Regions from separate parts of the Homo sapiens genome. Here all the other regions are linked to region 1. Evidence: promoter capture Hi-C in human tissues and cell types (Jung and others, 2019). All regions are on one chromosome and are shown on one strand. Each heading gives the region's core, a stretch centred on a gene start or on the middle of the fragment in contact. The rest is flanking DNA. Distances are from core to core; before and after follow the strand shown.

What was found. The method cuts DNA at HindIII sites, captures the fragments that hold promoters and counts their contacts. A contact is called where the count stands out against the background at its distance.
Region 2: a fragment that was not itself captured here is called in contact with the fragment with the promoter of ERLIN2 in region 1 in 1 of the 25 tissues and cell types used here (IMR-90 fibroblasts).
Region 3: a fragment that was not itself captured here is called in contact with the fragment with the promoter of ERLIN2 in region 1 in 2 of the 25 tissues and cell types used here (IMR-90 fibroblasts and dorsolateral prefrontal cortex).
Region 4: a fragment that was not itself captured here is called in contact with the fragment with the promoter of ERLIN2 in region 1 in 1 of the 25 tissues and cell types used here (IMR-90 fibroblasts).

What each region holds. Positions count from the first base shown.
Region 1 is chr8:37,733,896-37,737,979 of GRCh38, forward strand. ERLIN2 (ER lipid raft associated 2) reads left to right here and starts at 2,739. Exons shown (of 12, transcript NM_007175.8): 1 at 2,739-2,783; 2 at 4,013-4,084. The coding sequence starts at 4,028. LOC102723701 (a long non-coding RNA gene) reads right to left here and starts at 3,531. Exons shown (of 2, transcript NR_125821.1): 1 at 3,484-3,531; 2 at 866-2,903. RefSeq lists enhancers at 2,612-2,821, 3,301-4,084. The HindIII fragment of the contact is 16,352 bases long and covers 1-4,084 here.
Region 2 is chr8:37,095,218-37,099,343 of GRCh38, forward strand. It overlaps the pseudogene SMARCE1P4. Among named protein-coding and RNA genes, the nearest start is that of KCNU1, 310 kb to the left of the region's middle. The HindIII fragment of the contact is 3,893 bases long and covers 249-4,126 here.
Region 3 is chr8:36,891,912-36,896,234 of GRCh38, forward strand. The region is part of intron 19 of KCNU1 (potassium calcium-activated channel subfamily U member 1); the gene reads left to right. All of the region lies in intron 2 of LOC105379375 (a long non-coding RNA gene), which reads right to left. Among named protein-coding and RNA genes, the nearest start is that of KCNU1, 110 kb to the left of the region's middle. The HindIII fragment of the contact is 6,473 bases long and covers 1-4,323 here.
Region 4 is chr8:37,062,753-37,067,070 of GRCh38, forward strand. It overlaps LOC105379377 (a long non-coding RNA gene), which reads right to left. Exons shown (of 7, transcript XR_949675.4): 7 at 3,047-4,318. Among named protein-coding and RNA genes, the nearest start is that of KCNU1, 280 kb to the left of the region's middle. The HindIII fragment of the contact is 4,005 bases long and covers 1-3,984 here.

The DNA of each region.
Region 1 (4,084 bases), core at 1,489-3,988:
CCACAAACATGCAAGAATACATTAAGGGAATTTGCTATTTAAAACAGCAACAGCTAACACTTGGTGAACACTTAAAATGTACCAAATGTTGTATATGCTTTTCACAACAGTCCTATAAGTTTCATACCATTATTACTTTAATTTTATAGATGAAGAAACTGAGGCAGGGATAGATCATTTTTCCAATGTTACAGAATAAGAGGCAGGCTCCAGGATTTAAACAAGGCAGCCTGACTGTGAAGTATCTGAGCTAAATCACTACTCTATACTGTGAGGTTTTTTAAAAAATAAAATTTTAGCCGGGCGCAGTGGCTCACGCCTGTAATCCCAGCACTTTGGGAGCCCAAGGCACGTGGATCACTTGAGGTCAGGAGTTCAATACCAGCCTGACCAACGTGGTGAAACCCCATCTCTACTAAAAATACAAAAATTAGCCAGTCGTGGTGGCATGCGTCTGTAGCCCCAGCTACTCGGGAGGCTGAGGCAGGAGAATCGCTTGAAGGGAGGCAAAGGTTGCAGAGCTGAGATCGCGCCACTGCAGTCCAGCCTGGGTGACAGAGCGAGACAGGAAGGAAGGAAGGAAGGAAGGAAGGAAGGAAGGAAGGAAGGAAGGAAGGAAGGAGAAAAAGAAATTGTAAACATTTTTGTTAAACAAATCATCACAAATGTATCTGCTGGGTAACATAAAAATCACAGGTCTCTTAAGAAAGAGATTTTCAGAAGTACTAGATCATCATGTACTAGCACATCACGAAGTCCATCCCCCTGCCTTTAGGCACGTCCACAACTAAATAACTCAGGTCTGGTAAAATGACTCCTAAGAACAAAATCCCAAAACTTCTAGCCACAATTCACTCCAAAGTTTAATGTGAGGAAATTTTTGTGTTTTTATTATTTTTAATTGACACATAATAATATACATATTTGTGGGAAGGGGAGGGGAGACGGGTTGCCAGAGGTTGGTTAAAGGAAATTCTTAAATTACAAGTAATTTAAATACTTGATGCTGCAGGCTAGCCCCCATTTCATGGGTTGATGAACCCTAATATTTCCATTTTTCTTACTCAATTATTAAATAAACTATTAAATAAGCATGCCCAGCTGAGGTTATATCACTGAACAGGGAGAGAAAAAACTCAAGTTCTGATAGGATTGATCGAGAGATTGGCCAGCTGTGTCTGTTTGGGGTGGGGGATGCAGGGACAGAGTAGGGAGATGAAAGGCCTTCATTTATGGAGATGGGCACAGAGCTCCCAGACAGCACCATGTAACCCTCGTATGGGTTTCACCATGTAATGCTGAAACATCCCAACACCCAGAGCAAACGCAGGAAAGGTAAACGGGCCAATCCCAAGCAGGCATGCCTGGAAAAAACCACACTTCCCTTTTCCTGAGTCTTAAATCTGTCTAACACCACCAGCTTGCCATCTTCCCGGTGTAAAAGTTTTTCTTTTACTGAAGGCTATAATTAAGTGGACTCTTTCTCTCCTGCAAACAAAATATTAATAACCTCAGTGGCTGAATTAGAAATGCCCCAATGTGATGCTGGTGAATAGGGCAGGTGGAGGACAACGTGAGGCCCTTAGACTAGGAGACACAAACTCTGGATTCCGGGCCTGGTCCCACGTTGCCTTCAGTCTGTTTTTACTGGGCACCTAAGCCCCGGGGGTGCGGAAGGAAAGTCAGTCTCTGCTCTCCCGGGAACGTACAGTTTATCTAGAAAGACGAAGTGCACTAGCCCCTGTGCACTGTGGCAGGAGTTTAAAAAGCAGTGAACTCAAGATATTAAGGAAACACAAAGGAAACTTTCCTTGGCTTTTACCCTTGAACCTCGCTGAACTTCTTAGATTCCGTTCATTAAAATTAGAATAATAATTCCTTGTTAATATACTTTGTGGCGTTGCAGGATCCCAAGGGCCAAAGCTCCCAGAAAAATATAAAGAACAACTCAAGGTAGGGATTTTTGATTGGTGAGGTAATGATGCTAATCTGTACATTGAAAAGACTGTTTCATTTCAGCTGTGCTATAGGAAAGCAAACAGTTGCAACTCGCCAGTACCTTATCAAGGAGAGAAAAAAAAAAAGGCCGCGCATGGTGGCTCATGCCTGTAATCCCAGCAGTTTGGGAGGCCGAGGCAGGAGGATTGCTTGAAGCCAGAGTTTGAGACCAGAAATACCAAGACCCTGTCTTTACTAAAAATAAAATTGTCAAGTGTCGTGGCGTGCGCCTGTGGTCCCAGCTACTCAGCAGGGTGAGGTGGGAGGATCGCTTAAGCCCAGGAGTTCGAGGCTGTAGTGAGCTATGATCGTGCCACTGCACTCCAGCCTGGGCAAAAGAGCGAGACCTTGTCTCTAAAAAAACCAAAACGAACCAGGTTCGGCCTAATGCAGAAGGAAATCCGGAGCAATCCCCAAAGTCAACGCCTTGGAAAGGTTCGCCCTGGGTCTCAGTACTCCGGGGCATGCGCGTCCTGCCGCTCGCTCTCGGGGAGCTCCCACCAACACCGCCCTCATCCCCAGCCCCAGGACGGATACCCAAGACCGAGGTCCAGGACCGCACCGACCAAGTCGCGGGCGATCCCTGGCGGCCAGCTACGGCCATTGACCGCTGGGAGCGCGAGGGGCGGGGCGCAGAGCGAGCGCGGGGCGGGGGTGTGGTCTTCTCGCGTGAATTGATGGCGTCATCGAAGCGACGGCCCGGAAGGAAGTCGCGTGCTGAGGGGTGTGACGGTTTTCTTGCTCGTGGGCTCGGACGAGTACGGAGCGCCTGCAGGGACAGCCTGGTACGCGGCCCCCGCCCCTTCGTGCGCGCGCTGGGCCTAGCTGCCGCTCAGGGTCGGGGCTGACCCGTCACTTTCGGGAACCTCAGTCCCAGCAGCTTCTCTCCCTCAGCCGGCCCGCTCCTGGAGAGAGACAGAAACCCTTTTCTGTCGCGTCCTCTCCTTGCGAGCCGCAGGGGGACCGAGCGGAGGCTATTGGAGCCGCAGCCCCAGACCAGGGCGCTTGACCCTCTCTCGGAACGGGGCGGGGAAGGGGCGCGAGTGACCTCGGGGAGGGAAGGGCACTGGCAGGAAAGGACGCAACTGCAGATCGGTAGCCGGAGGCCGCCACGGTAAAATAAGCGCCTCGCAGATGTCCGCGCCCCGGTTACGTTAGACCTGGGAGGCAGAATCCACGCCCTGCGCTCACGGGCCCACGCACGCACAGCTGAACTTTGCAGTCAGTCACCATAGTTCCAGATCATTCAGCGTTCAGGATCCCACTCCTCCGCGTCCTGGTGCCTGAACGCGGTTGGACCTAGGAGCCTAGAGGCTCGCAGTTTGGGACATTGCCTTTCTCTCTGACCACGGGCTTGGGGATCTGTCAGGTGCAAAGTGCCAAAGTATATGGGGGGGAGTGTGGCTTCAGGCTTGTTCAGAGCCCTGTCCTGTTTAGGGCCAAAGGAATAACTGGGAAGGTGGATGCGAGGCCAACGAATCCTACCTTGAAACTCTGCTCGCCTGCTGGCTCTGCCACTCCAGCATCTGAAAGGAGTAAATAATGGTTTCCTTTGAAACTGCAGGCAATTAGGAGTGGGAGACTCTGACCAGAATTACATAGCCACAACTGCCTGTCATTTGGCATCCTCTGTAATTTGGGCCAAAGTACTGCAGCTGCCTCTCTTCCCTACTACTGGTAGGAAAGGTTCAGTGACAGCACATTCGTGTTCACAGGAAGACAAGGCTGTGTTCTGAACCCTACCCAGCTGGCACGGGTTCTCCCTTGAGCAACGGCTGTATCCGGAGCCAGTGCTTCCTCAGTGCGGTGGGGGCTCTAATTTTACAGTTAAAGAAAGGGGAACGTTGACTGAGAACGAGGAGGAAGCGAGTTGTAGATCTAGCCTTGTGTTCACACGACACCAGGCTGGATATGAGTCACTCGCAGGGAGCTCAGCTTGGTGAGGTCCTCTCGCTGTTGTGGCCTTTTCTCCTGCACGTTGGACCACACACATTTTCCCGTGTCTTTTCCCTAGGATAAAGGCTCACTGATGGCTCAGTTGGGAGCAGTTGTGGCTGTGGCTTCCAGTTTCTTTTGTGCATCTCTC
Region 2 (4,126 bases), core at 945-3,444, 640 kb before region 1:
TGTGAGATACAATCCATACAGTCATCTCACCTACAACAACTACAGGCTTGAAGGGAACCCAGGCACCAACAGCCAGGTCACAGCATCCTCTGCTATTACCATACCAAAACCCCCAAAGCCACCAGATAAGCCGCTGATGCCCTACGTGAGGTACAGGCAGAAAGGTCTGGGACCAAGTAAAGACTTCCAACCCTGACTTAAAGTTGTGGGAGATTGGCAAGATTATTGGTGGCATGTGGTGAGATCTCACTGGTGAAGAAAAGCAAGAATATTTAAATGAATACGAAGCAGAAAAGACAGAATACAATGAATCTATGAAGGCCTATCATAAATCCCCCATATACCTTGCTTACATAAATGCAAAAAGTCGTGCAGAAGCTGCTTTAGAGGAAGAAAGTTGACAGAGACAGTCTTGCGTGGAGAAAGGAGAACCGTACATGAACATTTAGCCTCCTGAAGATCCAGATGATTATGACGATGGCTTTTCAATGAAGCATACAGCCACCGCCCATTTCCAGAGAAACCACTGCCTCATCAGTGAAATCCTTAGTGAGAGTGTGGTGCCAGACGTTCGGTCAGTTGTCACAACAGCTAGAATGTGGATCATCAAATGACAGGTCCAGTCCTTAATTATTCATCAGCGAAAACTAGAAGCTGAACTTCTTCAGATAGAGGAAATGACACCAGGAGAAGAGGAGGAAATACTTGGAAAGCACAGATTCATTTAATGATGAACTTAAAAGTTTGTGTGGTCTGAAAGTAGAAGTGGATATGAAGAAAATTGCAGGTGAGATTGCACAGGCAGAGGAACAGGCCCGCAAAAGGCAGGAGAAAAGGGAGAAGGAGGCAGCAGAGCAAGCTGAGCACAGAGCAGCATTGTTCCTAAGGAAAAGCAAGCAGCCAGCAAAGGCGAGGAGAAGAAAGATGACAAGAACATTCCAATGGAGATGGAGGAGGCACGCTTTGAAGAAATGACAGAGAGCCAACAGAACAGTGAAGAAGGCACGTCTACTCCTGAGGACAAGGAGAGTGGGCAGGAGTGGGTAGACAGTATGGCAGAGGAAGGAACCAGTGATAGTAACATTGGATCGGACAGCAACAGCACAATAGTGCAGGAGCCACCAAAAGATCCCATACCAGAAGATGAGAAAAAAAGAGTAAATCTTGCCTTGTTTTATGTGTTGTAAATAGTTTTTTAAATGAAAAAATGTTTTTGATTAAAAAAAAAAGAACATTCATGATTAATGGGAGGAGGTCAAAATATTCTCATTAACAGGAGTCTGGAAGAAGTTGATTCCAGTCCTCATGGATGACATTGAGAGGTTCAAGGCTTCAACGGAAGAAGTCACTACCGATGTGGTGGAAACAGCAAGAGAACTAGAAGTGGAGCCTAACTCAGTGAGACATGATGGAATTGTTGCAATCTCATGATAAAACTTGAACAGATGATTAATTTATGGATGAGCAAAGAAAGCGGTTTCTTGAGATGAGATCTACTCCTGGTGAAGATGCTACGAACATTATTGAAAAGACAAACAATTCAGAATATTATATACACTTAGTTGATAAAACAGCAGCAGCGTTTGAGAAAATTGACTCCAATTTATAAGGAAGTTATACTGTGGGTTAAATGCTATCAAACAGCATGACATACTACAGAGAAATCTTTCCAGAAAATGAGAGTCAATTGGTGTGGCAAGCTTCATTGTTGTCTTATTTTAAGAAACTTAAAAATTGTAAGAAATTGTCACAGCCACCCCAACCTTCAGCAACCACCACCCTAAACAATTTGTGTGACTCAATTTATTGCAACATTTGCTTTATTATGGTGGTCTGGAACTGAAGCCACAATATCTCTGAGGTATGCCTGTAATTCCACCTGCAATGAGCCTATTTCCAAATAAAGTAACCTCTGAGGTACTGAGGATTAGAATTTTAACATATCTTTGGCAGGAGGGAGGAAACAATTCAACTCTTAACACTACGTCTCCCGACAATTTCAACTTTGGCCCCTGGGTTGAACACCTGCCTCCTGAGGATCAGGGTAGTCAGCAAACATCCAGAGTGTAGATTAGCTGTGGCACTAGGAATCTCGGCAAAAGATTTGGGATGGTACCCAGCACCTGCTCTCAAAAGCTCATCCCTCCATGATGCGCTGGGGAGGAGACTCTTTCCCAAGACCCAGCTGGGTATGCAATGCTACAAACGTCTCTGCTGCATTTCTTTTCTGGGTTGGTACTTTTTCTAAGAGAGAGAGAGAGAGAGAGAGAGTGCATGTAAAACAGAGAGAGAGAGAAAGGAGAGAGAGAGAATCATTGTGCCTTTGTGTTTGTATATGTGACTGCGTGTGGATGTATGCGTGCCTCGGCCTGTGTGCCTCTGTGTGTGACTCTATGGGTGTGACAGTATGCAACTGTGTCATAACACTGTGTATTTACATCTGTGAGTACATGTGTCTGTGAGTGTGTGATAGAATCTGTGACTATGGATACAGGTTTGTGCAGGCACGTGTATGTCTGTCAGTATTTACACACGTTTATAGTACAGGCACAGAAGCTGTTGAAATGCTCAATGCTATATTGAGCAAATTGAAGAAGGAACAGGTATGGATTGTCTGGGACTGTGAGCCCCAAAGAGAAGCTTCATCTCTCCAGAATCCATTGGTGTTCACACTCACTTCTCATTAGGAGAGAGCAACCCCAATGGCCTTGCCCTTACCCAGAAGCTGAAAAGACAACAGCAGAACTTCTGCAAAAGGCCAGATCTTCTAAACTCACAGCCAGCACAATCATTTGGAACAATCTGGTAGCAGGAAAAATAAGTCATAGATAAGTTAGGCAGATGCCTCCAACTAACCAAGATAATCCAGAAACTCCCTCATTAAATCTGGCTCACAGGAAAGTGAAAGAGAAGAATGACTGTCCTACATTCATCAAAATGCACATGAAACAAAAAGATAATGTATGAGAAGGTGCTTGAAAAAGGTGAAAGTACTACACAGAAGCAGAATATTGTTTGAAAGCTGAACACCCAATCTTTATTGAGATGGCCTGTAGAGGGGAAGAAGCAGGGTGCTCCGCTGAGGCTACTCTGGAAAAGAGGATGACATCCTGGGACGTAACCCTATAGCACCAGCCAGAGTGTGGAGGCAAGGTGGCCTGGGTAGCCTGGGCCAGCACCCCTAGCCTTCTCACCAGTTTCGTAGAGACCTCCTCCTATCAGCTCTTAGCCATAGAGTAAGAGCCACAGCGTGCTCTACAGCTTTGCTCTAAACATTTTCAACCCATGGAGCCAATAGGGAGGTCATGGTCATGATGAACGAAGCACAAGGTTGTCAACTACAGAAGAATGGTAACAACATTTTGATAGACTACATAGCAAGCATTGGTCACAAAACTCATTTGATCCTCACATCAACTTACAAGGTAGAATGACTGTCATTCCCCTTTTACAGATGAGAAAACAGACACACAGAGCAATCGGGTAACTAACTCAGGGTCCACAGCTGGTAAGTAGCAAGGAAAGCACTTCCACAGAGATTAGTTATATTGTAAGTCTTCCTTAGTTTTCTTGAAGCATAGACCAGGTTACCATCCTTCTTTCCTGGCAGCTATTAGATAGATAATGCTAACTAAGTCTTTGTTCTAAAAAAATGTTCAACCTTACATCATACCTGTGCATTTGAGTAGCGTTAGACACAAGACTAAGTCATCCCACATCTCCGAACCACCAATATCGAAGCCGTGGAATTTAAAGACAAGCAATGCCCTTTGAGGCACCCAGGGTAGGGAATTCCATAGGCATTTTTTTTCCTTATCATCAATTTAATGATATACCATGAATCATTGAACCTTTCTGGCCTACCTTTCCCTATCTGAGATTTGGGGAGTTTTGAATAGGCTAAGCTCTAGTATTCTGCTGTACCCTAGGAAGGTGTGTCATGAAAAACAATCAAGACTCTGCCGGGAGAGACCTAGGATTTGCACAGATCTTTGTAACCAAAAAACATTAGACAGTCATCAGACATTATGATTGTTTTATGATTATAAAGCCTAGGCAGGAAGCACTTACAAATGTTAACAGGAGCGGCATCAAAGCCCTGGCCATGTAACTCTTATAGGAGTCT
Region 3 (4,323 bases), core at 23-2,522, 840 kb before region 1:
ATTTGATTATGGTATATCCAGGTCTGAATCTCTTTGAGATTACTCTACTTTAAACTTCCTTTAGCTGCTTAGATATGTAAGTTAATGTTTTCATTAAATATGTAAAATTTGTGTCCATTATCTAAGTACTCTTTCTTCTTTCTCTCTCTCCCCCATTTCTGAAACTCCCATTTTGTGTATGTTGATACACTTGATGATGTCCCACAGTTTTCTGAAGCTTCTGTGTATATTTCTTCAATAGGTTTTTATTTCTATTTTTCTGACTGCATTATCTCCATTGACTTATATTCAAGCTCATTTATTCCTTCTTCTGCCAACTCAGATCTGCTGCTGAGCTCCTTCACTAAAATTTTCTTTTCAGTTATTGTACTTCTTAACTCCAGAATTTCCATTTGTTTTTTTCTTATAATCTATCTCCTCACTGATATTTTGTATTCAGTGCTATATTGTTCTCATACTTTTCTTTAGTTCTTTAAAAATGGTTTCAGTTAGTCCTTTAAATATATTTATAATGGCTCTTATAAAATCTTTGCCTAGAAAGTCTGGGCTTCCTTCCGGACAGTTTCTATTGGTGTTCCCACCCCCCACCCCCCACCAGGTATGGTCCATACTTACTGTGTCTTTGTGTCTCATAATTTTTTGTTGAAAGCCAGGCATTTTAAATAATATTATATGACAACTCTACAAACTATTTTGCTATGGTTTATTGTATATTGACACTTAAATCTCTACTCAGCTTTATGATCAGCTAATGATTGCACTGAGATTTCCTTAAATGCCTTGAACTGATAAGTCTTCTTATATTTGCCAAGGGATTCTGTGTGCATGTTGAGGTAATTCCTTTGACACTTTAGCAGTTTACATCTTTGCCTAAGCCTTCATTTTTGGTTTGTGCAGTCTCAAGATCAGCCAGAAGAGATTAGGAATACCTCAGGTTTTTTTTCCCCTGGGTGTATTTACAACTCTGCACATGCACATGGTTTTATTTTTATTCAGTTTCCTACAGTGAATGTTTCAAAACCTTTTAATACCCTCTATAGAAGTCTGTTATTTTCTTTTGTTTTATTTGAGACAGAGTCTTGCTTTGTCACCCAGGACAGCATGCAGTGGCATGATCTCAGCTCACTGCAACATCTGCCTCCTGGGATCAAGCAATTCTCCTGACTCAGCCTCTCAAGTAGCTGTTATTACAGGTGTGAGCCACCATGCCTAGCTACTTTTTGTTTTTTTTTGTTTTTTTTTTGTAAAGATGAGGTTTCGCCATGTTGCCCAGGTTAGTCTTGAACTCCTGGCCTCTGGTGATCCACCTGCTTCAGCCTCCCAAAGTGCTGGGATTACAGGCATGAGCCACCACATCTGGCCCTCTCTATAGACTTCTAATTCTCCAGCTTTTTCTTTTGAAGATTTTTATGGGTCTTTTTTTTTTTTGCGACATTGTTAACTATAACTCAGATATTTGCAATTTAAAAAAATTACTGCTGATTATTTTTTTAAAATGCCTCCGGAAAAATTCCACTGAGAAAACTCCCAGGCCAAATAAAGATAAGCCCTGTGAGTGTGCACTTCCAGGGAGCTGCTAGAAAGCTCAAATAGTAACATATTCTGTGAATAAGGATATTTAACAGCTTCAGATCTATTTTTTCTCTCTGGTGGCTGCTAGACTGCTGGTTTTCAGAGCTACTGTTATTGTAAGGCTTCTGATCTTGATGGCTACTGTTGAACTAAAGATAGTGGAATGGGAATAGCACTTCTCAAAAATGCCATGAAGCTTATTGTTCTTACCAAGATCTCACCATTTTTCTTAAACAAATACTCCTCATATTGTTTCAAGTCTCCAGTTTATTTCCAGAACTCTGAAGATGTTGATTTTGATAATTTTTTTGTCAATATTCTCATTGCTTGTGTAGAATAGTGAATATTCAAAGGCCCTAACTCTGCCATTCTGGAAGAATGTCCCTTGTAGTTACTTTTTATAGTTATTTTTCATCTTCCTATTAAACTTGTAATGGTCCCTTAACCTGGTTTAAGACCATCTCTTTGCAGCAACGCCTTCCTTCATCTCTAACTTGACACTTTTAATCTGCAAGCCAAAAATCCAAAAATGTTAGAAATATAGATAATTCATGAAAAAATTTTCGATTAACAAATGCCACTGAGTATTTGTGATATCTTTGGTCTATGCAAATGCTATTTTAAAATGATGTCAGGCTGCTTTCTAGATTAGAAGTCAAAATCCACTTCACTACCTGTTTTTATATGGTTTGCCATACAAAAGCATTGTGCTTAATTTCAATGAAAGTATACTGTGGTAAAAGACTACAATATATGTTGATATTATCAAACTTGGCACTTATCACAATATTCTCAATTCATGGTAAAGCCATGGTTAGAAAAATTATAAAATTTTAAAAGAACATCTTAGCACAGCAGAATTTGTAATCAAAGTTTGTTTCTGAGTGACTCACTTGTTAGCCAAGCAAGAGAAGTCATTTACTAATGGTGAATCAATTAAATTGTGTTTGATTGCAGCAGATGAAAAAATGTATCCAGACAAAATAAAACTACCTAGTACTATTAACCTTTCAGCAAAAATCACTGCTGGAAGAATTGAAGACATCAGAAGCAATATCAATATCACTTAAAAATGAGGAAAATAGTTGTGAGTGGTTTCTCTCAGCTTTTAATATGTTAACATATGTTACTGATACAGCTTAGTTATTATTTATTCAAGGAGTCAAGGCAGAGTCTGAAGTACCTAAATGGCCTCTGTGAATAGTCTGCATGGCACAACTACCTGTGAAAATATATTCAAAGAAGTTGAGAAAATATTAATTCAGTATAATCTGAAGCGGAATCTGCTAAGATGTATTACAGATGATACAAAAATACATGTAGACCAGAAACAGTCCTAGTTAGACAAATTTACAAAGTTCGTAAAATGTAAAATGCATAAAGACTATAGTCCTTATTGTGTTATCCATCAGAAAGTATTTTGTGAATAATATATTAATTTATCATGAGTTATTGAACCAGAAGTGTCAATGGTGAATTTTATTAGCTCTCATGAACTTTGCCATTGTTAGTTCCATAAAGTTTTGTAAGAAATAAAATCTGAATATCCTGACTTACCCTACTACACATCAGTTTAAGAACTTAACAATAGTAAAGTTTTTTGTGATTTTTTTTTTTTGGAAACAGAATCTCACTCTGTCACCCAGACAGAGTGGGTGCAGTGGCACAATCTCAGCTCACTGCCCCCCCAGTTCAAGTGAGTCTTCTGCCTCAGACTTCCAAGTAACTGGGATTACAGGCACTGACCACCACGCCCAGCTAATTTTTATATTTTTAGTAGAGATGGGGTTTCACCATGTTGTCCAGGCTGGTCTCAAACACCTGGCCTTAAGTAATCTGCCCCCCTCAGCCTCCCAAAGTGCTGGGATTGCAAGCATGAGCCACTGTACCTGGCCTTTTGTGTTATTTTAAAAACCTGGATCAAGATTAAAATGTTTCTGAATAAGAAGAACTGTGCTGTCAACCACTATTTCCGAACACTAAATGACTTCAAAACTTATTATTCACTGCAGGTTTCATCATCTCTATTAACAAATTTAAACTTGAAAGTCAAAGCAGAGCTAACATGTGAAACTTATACTATCATAATTACAATGACAATTATCAATCTTTGAATCACAATTAATGTCATTCTTCTTTATATACTTCCCATGCTGTCAAAAGTTAAAATAAAAAATGAGATTACTATTTCCACACAAATTTTCTGTAGATATATTTTCTGATCTCAGTTTCAGCATTGTCATTTTAGACCTTGATGCAAGTGCTAAAAAAATTCTATATTTCAAAGTTTACTTAACAATGCAACTGAGAAGTTTCTACCTAAACTTTCATTGCAAGTGATTAATCTGCAACATAATGACATACTAAAAGGCAAATATCAAAAGAAGAATCTAATAAAATTCTATAAATGCCTTCTAAGCAATAAATATACTCAATTATTATAGAATCTTATGCTCTTGGAGCACTATTGGTATTTGATAGTACCTATCTGTGTGAAAAGACTTTTTCAAAGATAAAATATGTTAAATTTTGTTGTTGTTAACATTAACATATGAACATTTGCAATTAATTTTGATTATAGAGAATATTAACTATGAATGCCAATTTTTAAAAATCCCTTAAAAATTATTTTTTTATTAGTAGACCTATAATTTAAGAAATTTAAATTACTAAACTATTATATTTTAAATATCATCAATGAATATTTATAAAAACTTATTTTCTTTCTTGTTATGTAAGTACCTACATGAT
Region 4 (4,318 bases), core at 732-3,231, 670 kb before region 1:
TTTAACTCTTTTAAACTGTTTCTTATCATCCTGAATAAATTTATAAAAAATATAAACGCTGACCAGGCACAATTGGCTCATGCCTGTAATCCCAGCACTTTGGGAGGCTGAGGCAGGAGGATCACTTAAAGTCAAGTATTTGAGATCAGCCTGGGTAACATAGCAAGACCCTGTCTCTACCAAAAAAAAAATTTTTTTAATTAGCCAAGCATGGTGGCATATGCCTGTAGTCCCAGCTACTCGAGAGGCTGAGGGAGGAGGATCACTTGAGGCCAGGAGGTCAAGGCTGCAGTGAGCTATAATCATGCCACTGCACTCCAGCCTGGGTGACAGAGCAAGACCCTGTCTCTAAAAACAAAACAAAAAACCCCGCAAAGTTGTAATCTACCTAAACACATAATTTTAAAAGTCATGTAGCACTCTATTTTTAATCATATAATGGGGAAATTCAAGGAGAGGGTTGCAATATGTCGATACTCAAGCATGACTTCCCTGGGAGGCAGCAGTACCCAAATACCTTCTCCTCTGTGTGCAGCCACCAGGAATGTACCAGCCACAAATGAACACTGATGCTGATATATTTATTGTGATTTAAAATAACACAGTCGCATCTCTGTTAGTGATATATTTTCTAAAATAATGAACAACTCTTGGAGAAGTGCCATATGATGCCATCCTTCCAGCTTGAGTGACACAGCAAGAATGTGTGATTGAGCAGAGAGTCCAGTGTCACCACGTCCTAGAGATGAGATCTCTAGCAAGTCACTTTGATATCTATTTATATCCATTCCTTAGCATCTGTGTGCTTTGTACCAATATAATGCCATCCTATTTTCTGTCAATTTACAGAATTGATGCTTTACTGAAAGGTTCAGGGAGTATTCAGACAGTGCAAAAATGTTTTTGAATTTACACACAATATAGATTTAGGCTTAGATTATTCCAAATAGGTCTTTCACCCAACTGTATGTCCAGTGAAACATTTGAAAATTACATGTGAAATGGGATAACTTTTTGATGTATGGAACTGACCAGTGTATTGCAAGACGTCTGCTCCCCTTGGCCCCACCTACTAAATGCCAATTACAATGATGGGTGAAATCCCACCTCCCCTAGGAGTGGCAGCTCTTCTCCATCTTGTCCCACATTGAGAACCACTGCTTTATCAGCTTTCTTGTGCTTCAGTTCTCACCCTTCTGTCTGAGCTCACCTTCTTTCCCCAGTATCCAGGATCTCTCTCTCTCCTTTTTTCTTTTTTATTCTCTATCTCTTATAATTCGGCATTTCAACATAACAAAACTTATATTTCTCTCTTAACTTCTTTATGCTAGCCTGGCACACTTGGTCCTCTGAATTATTTTGCTTCCAACTCAGCCTGGGTTGAATCCTGAAGGAGTCAGCAAGGCTTAGAAAAATTTCTTGGAACCAGAAACTCATGTGGAAGTCATTTAGTTTAACCCTCCTTTTCTACATGATCAAACTGAAGCTTAAATATGTGCAGTGACTTGCCTGGGGTCCCACAACAAGTAAGTGGTAGTTTCAAAACAGGAACCTGAGTGTCTTCCACTATCCTTATACCTAGCTCTCTCTTGCTCAATAAGCCAATAAACCAAGCAACAAACCCTTATTAATGTCAAATGTAAGGCACTTTGTTAGGAATGCCTTACACTTCCTGAATTTAAGTACAATTGGAAAGATAAGAAATGGCAATAAAACAATGATTCCATTTAACAAAGTGTATGTCTTGTATTCCAGTTTTGCACAAGACTTTGTGCTACATGTTTCAGGAGATACAATGAACGGCAGCAGCTTCAGCCTACTCTTCCTCTAGAGCACATGGTCTGGTAATGAGATAAGACCTTATTATAATGCAAGGTAGAACCAAACACAGCCGACACTTGAGCAACATGAGTTTGAACTGTGCAAGTTCACTTATACAGAGATTTCTTTCTACCTCTGCCCTGCCCCCAGATGACAAGACCAACCCCTCCGCTTCATCCTCTTCCTCAGCCTACTCAATGTGAAGACTATGAGGATTTTTGTGTATGGTGTGAGATAGGGGTTCAGTTTCATTCTTTTGTATATTGGTATCTAGTTTTCTTAACAACATTTGTTGAAGAGACTATCCTCTCCCCATTATGTATTTTTTGGCATCTTTGGATGCATGGGTTTATTTCTGGGTTGTCTATTCTGTTCCAATGGTATATACATCTGTCTTTATGCAAGTACTGTACTTTTTATTATGTCTTTGTAATATAATTTGAAGTCAGGAAGTGTGATGCCTTCAGCTTTGTTCTTCTTTTTCAAGATTGGTTATTCAGGGTCCTTTTGATTCCATAGGAATTTAAGAATATTTTTTCTATTTCTTAAAAAGTGCCTTTGGGATTTTGATAGAGATTGTGTTGAATATGTAGATCATTTTGGGTAGTATGGACATTTTTACAATATTAATTCCTCCAATCCAGGTACATAGGATTTGTATCTTCTCATTTATTTGTATCTTTTTAAATTTCCTTCATGAATGCTTTGTAAGCTTCAGTATATAAGTCCTTTACTTCTTTGGTTAAGTTAATTTCTAAGTATTTTATTTATTTATTTATTTTGTTGCTAATGTAAATGGGACTGTTTTCCTGTGGAGAAAAGAGAACCCTTATACACTGCTGATGAGAATGTAAATTAGTAAAACCATTATGGAAAATGGTATGAAGGTTCTCCAAAAACTTAAAAATAGAACTAACATGATCCAGCAATCCTAGTTCTTGGTATCTAAAGCAATCGAAATCAGGATTGTGAAGAGTTCTCTGCACTATCATGTTCATTACAGGATTATTCACAAAGCTAAGCTATGGAAATGGCCTAAATGTTTTTCAACAGATGAATGGATAAAGAAAATGTGGTGTGTGTGTGTGGGTGTGTGTGTGCGCGCGCGCATGTGTGTGTATAACAGAATACTATTAAAAAAGAAGGAAATCCTGCTGTTAGCCACAACATGATGAAGCTGGAAGACATTATGCTAGGTGAAACAAACAAGACACAGAAACAGAAATCCTGCATGATCTCATTTATATGTGAAATTGAAAATAGTCAAATTTATAGAAGCAGATAGTAGGATAGTGGTTTCCAGGGCCTGGTCAAGGAAGAAATAGGGTGATACTGGCCAAAAGATACAAAGATTCAGTTATGAAATATGAATAATTTCTAGAGACCTTATGTACAGCATGGTCATGTTAATTAACAAAACTGTATTGTATACTAGTAATTTGCTGAGAGGACACATCTTAAATCTTCTCACTACACACACACACACACACACACACGCACATAAACAATTGCAACTATGCAGAGGTAATGGATATGTTTAATTAGCTTGATTGTGGTGATAATTTAATAACGTATACTAAAACATCAAGTTGCACATCTTAAATGTATACATTTTTGTATGTCGATGATTTCTTAATAAAGCTGTTTAAAAATGAGACAACCAGGTGGACAGCTCCATGGAAGCAAGACAGAACTCCCTCGGGAAGTGGAACTTGAACACTGCCTGAGTACACAGTTGGGAAGATGATCAATTTTGATGTCGGAGTCGCTCGGACTTTAGCAAGGAAAGGGAAGGCTGTGAGCCAGATGCTGGGGTCACTCAGGAAAGCAAGAAAGTGTTAGAAACAGTGCTATATGGAGTCCAACACCAGCAAAGCTCTTGGATAATAATCACAAAACAGTGGTCGAGAGAAGTACTGGAGAGAACGGAAAAGCCGATCCCACTTTCGTTCAGTTAAGGGACAGGAATAAGAGAAAGATACGTTGAGAAGATTACAAGAGAAATGGTGTCTTCAGAGAAAAGGCAATGGTCACCTAATGGTAGAAGCAGAGGTACAAATAATTTTTTGATAAGATCTGTGCAGGTTTTTAAAATATAGAGTCTCAAGGAATAGGTCGTACAGGTTCAAGTTAGACAAACGTAAGACAAGAGGTTAAGACTCTCTGGATACGGATGAAAATAAGGGCCTAGGTGCAGGGAGAGTGGTATCTGAGATTTAAGACTTTGATTTTAATGACCAGGGCTTGGGAAGAAGAGGATGGAGGAGGGACTTGTGAGCAACTAACAAAAGAGGAATGTAAATTAGGCAGAAATCAATGAATGTAGGAAGTGTTGGGTTTACATGATGACCACTGTGGGGAGCTCCAGCCCATTCCTCCCTTAGGAGCACAGGTTCCGGAGCTCGGCAGAGGAGTTCAAATTTTCAATCTCTTCACTAGTTATGGAACAAGCCACTTAAATTGTGTTGGAGGATTAGCCGCTTAATCTTTCCGTCAA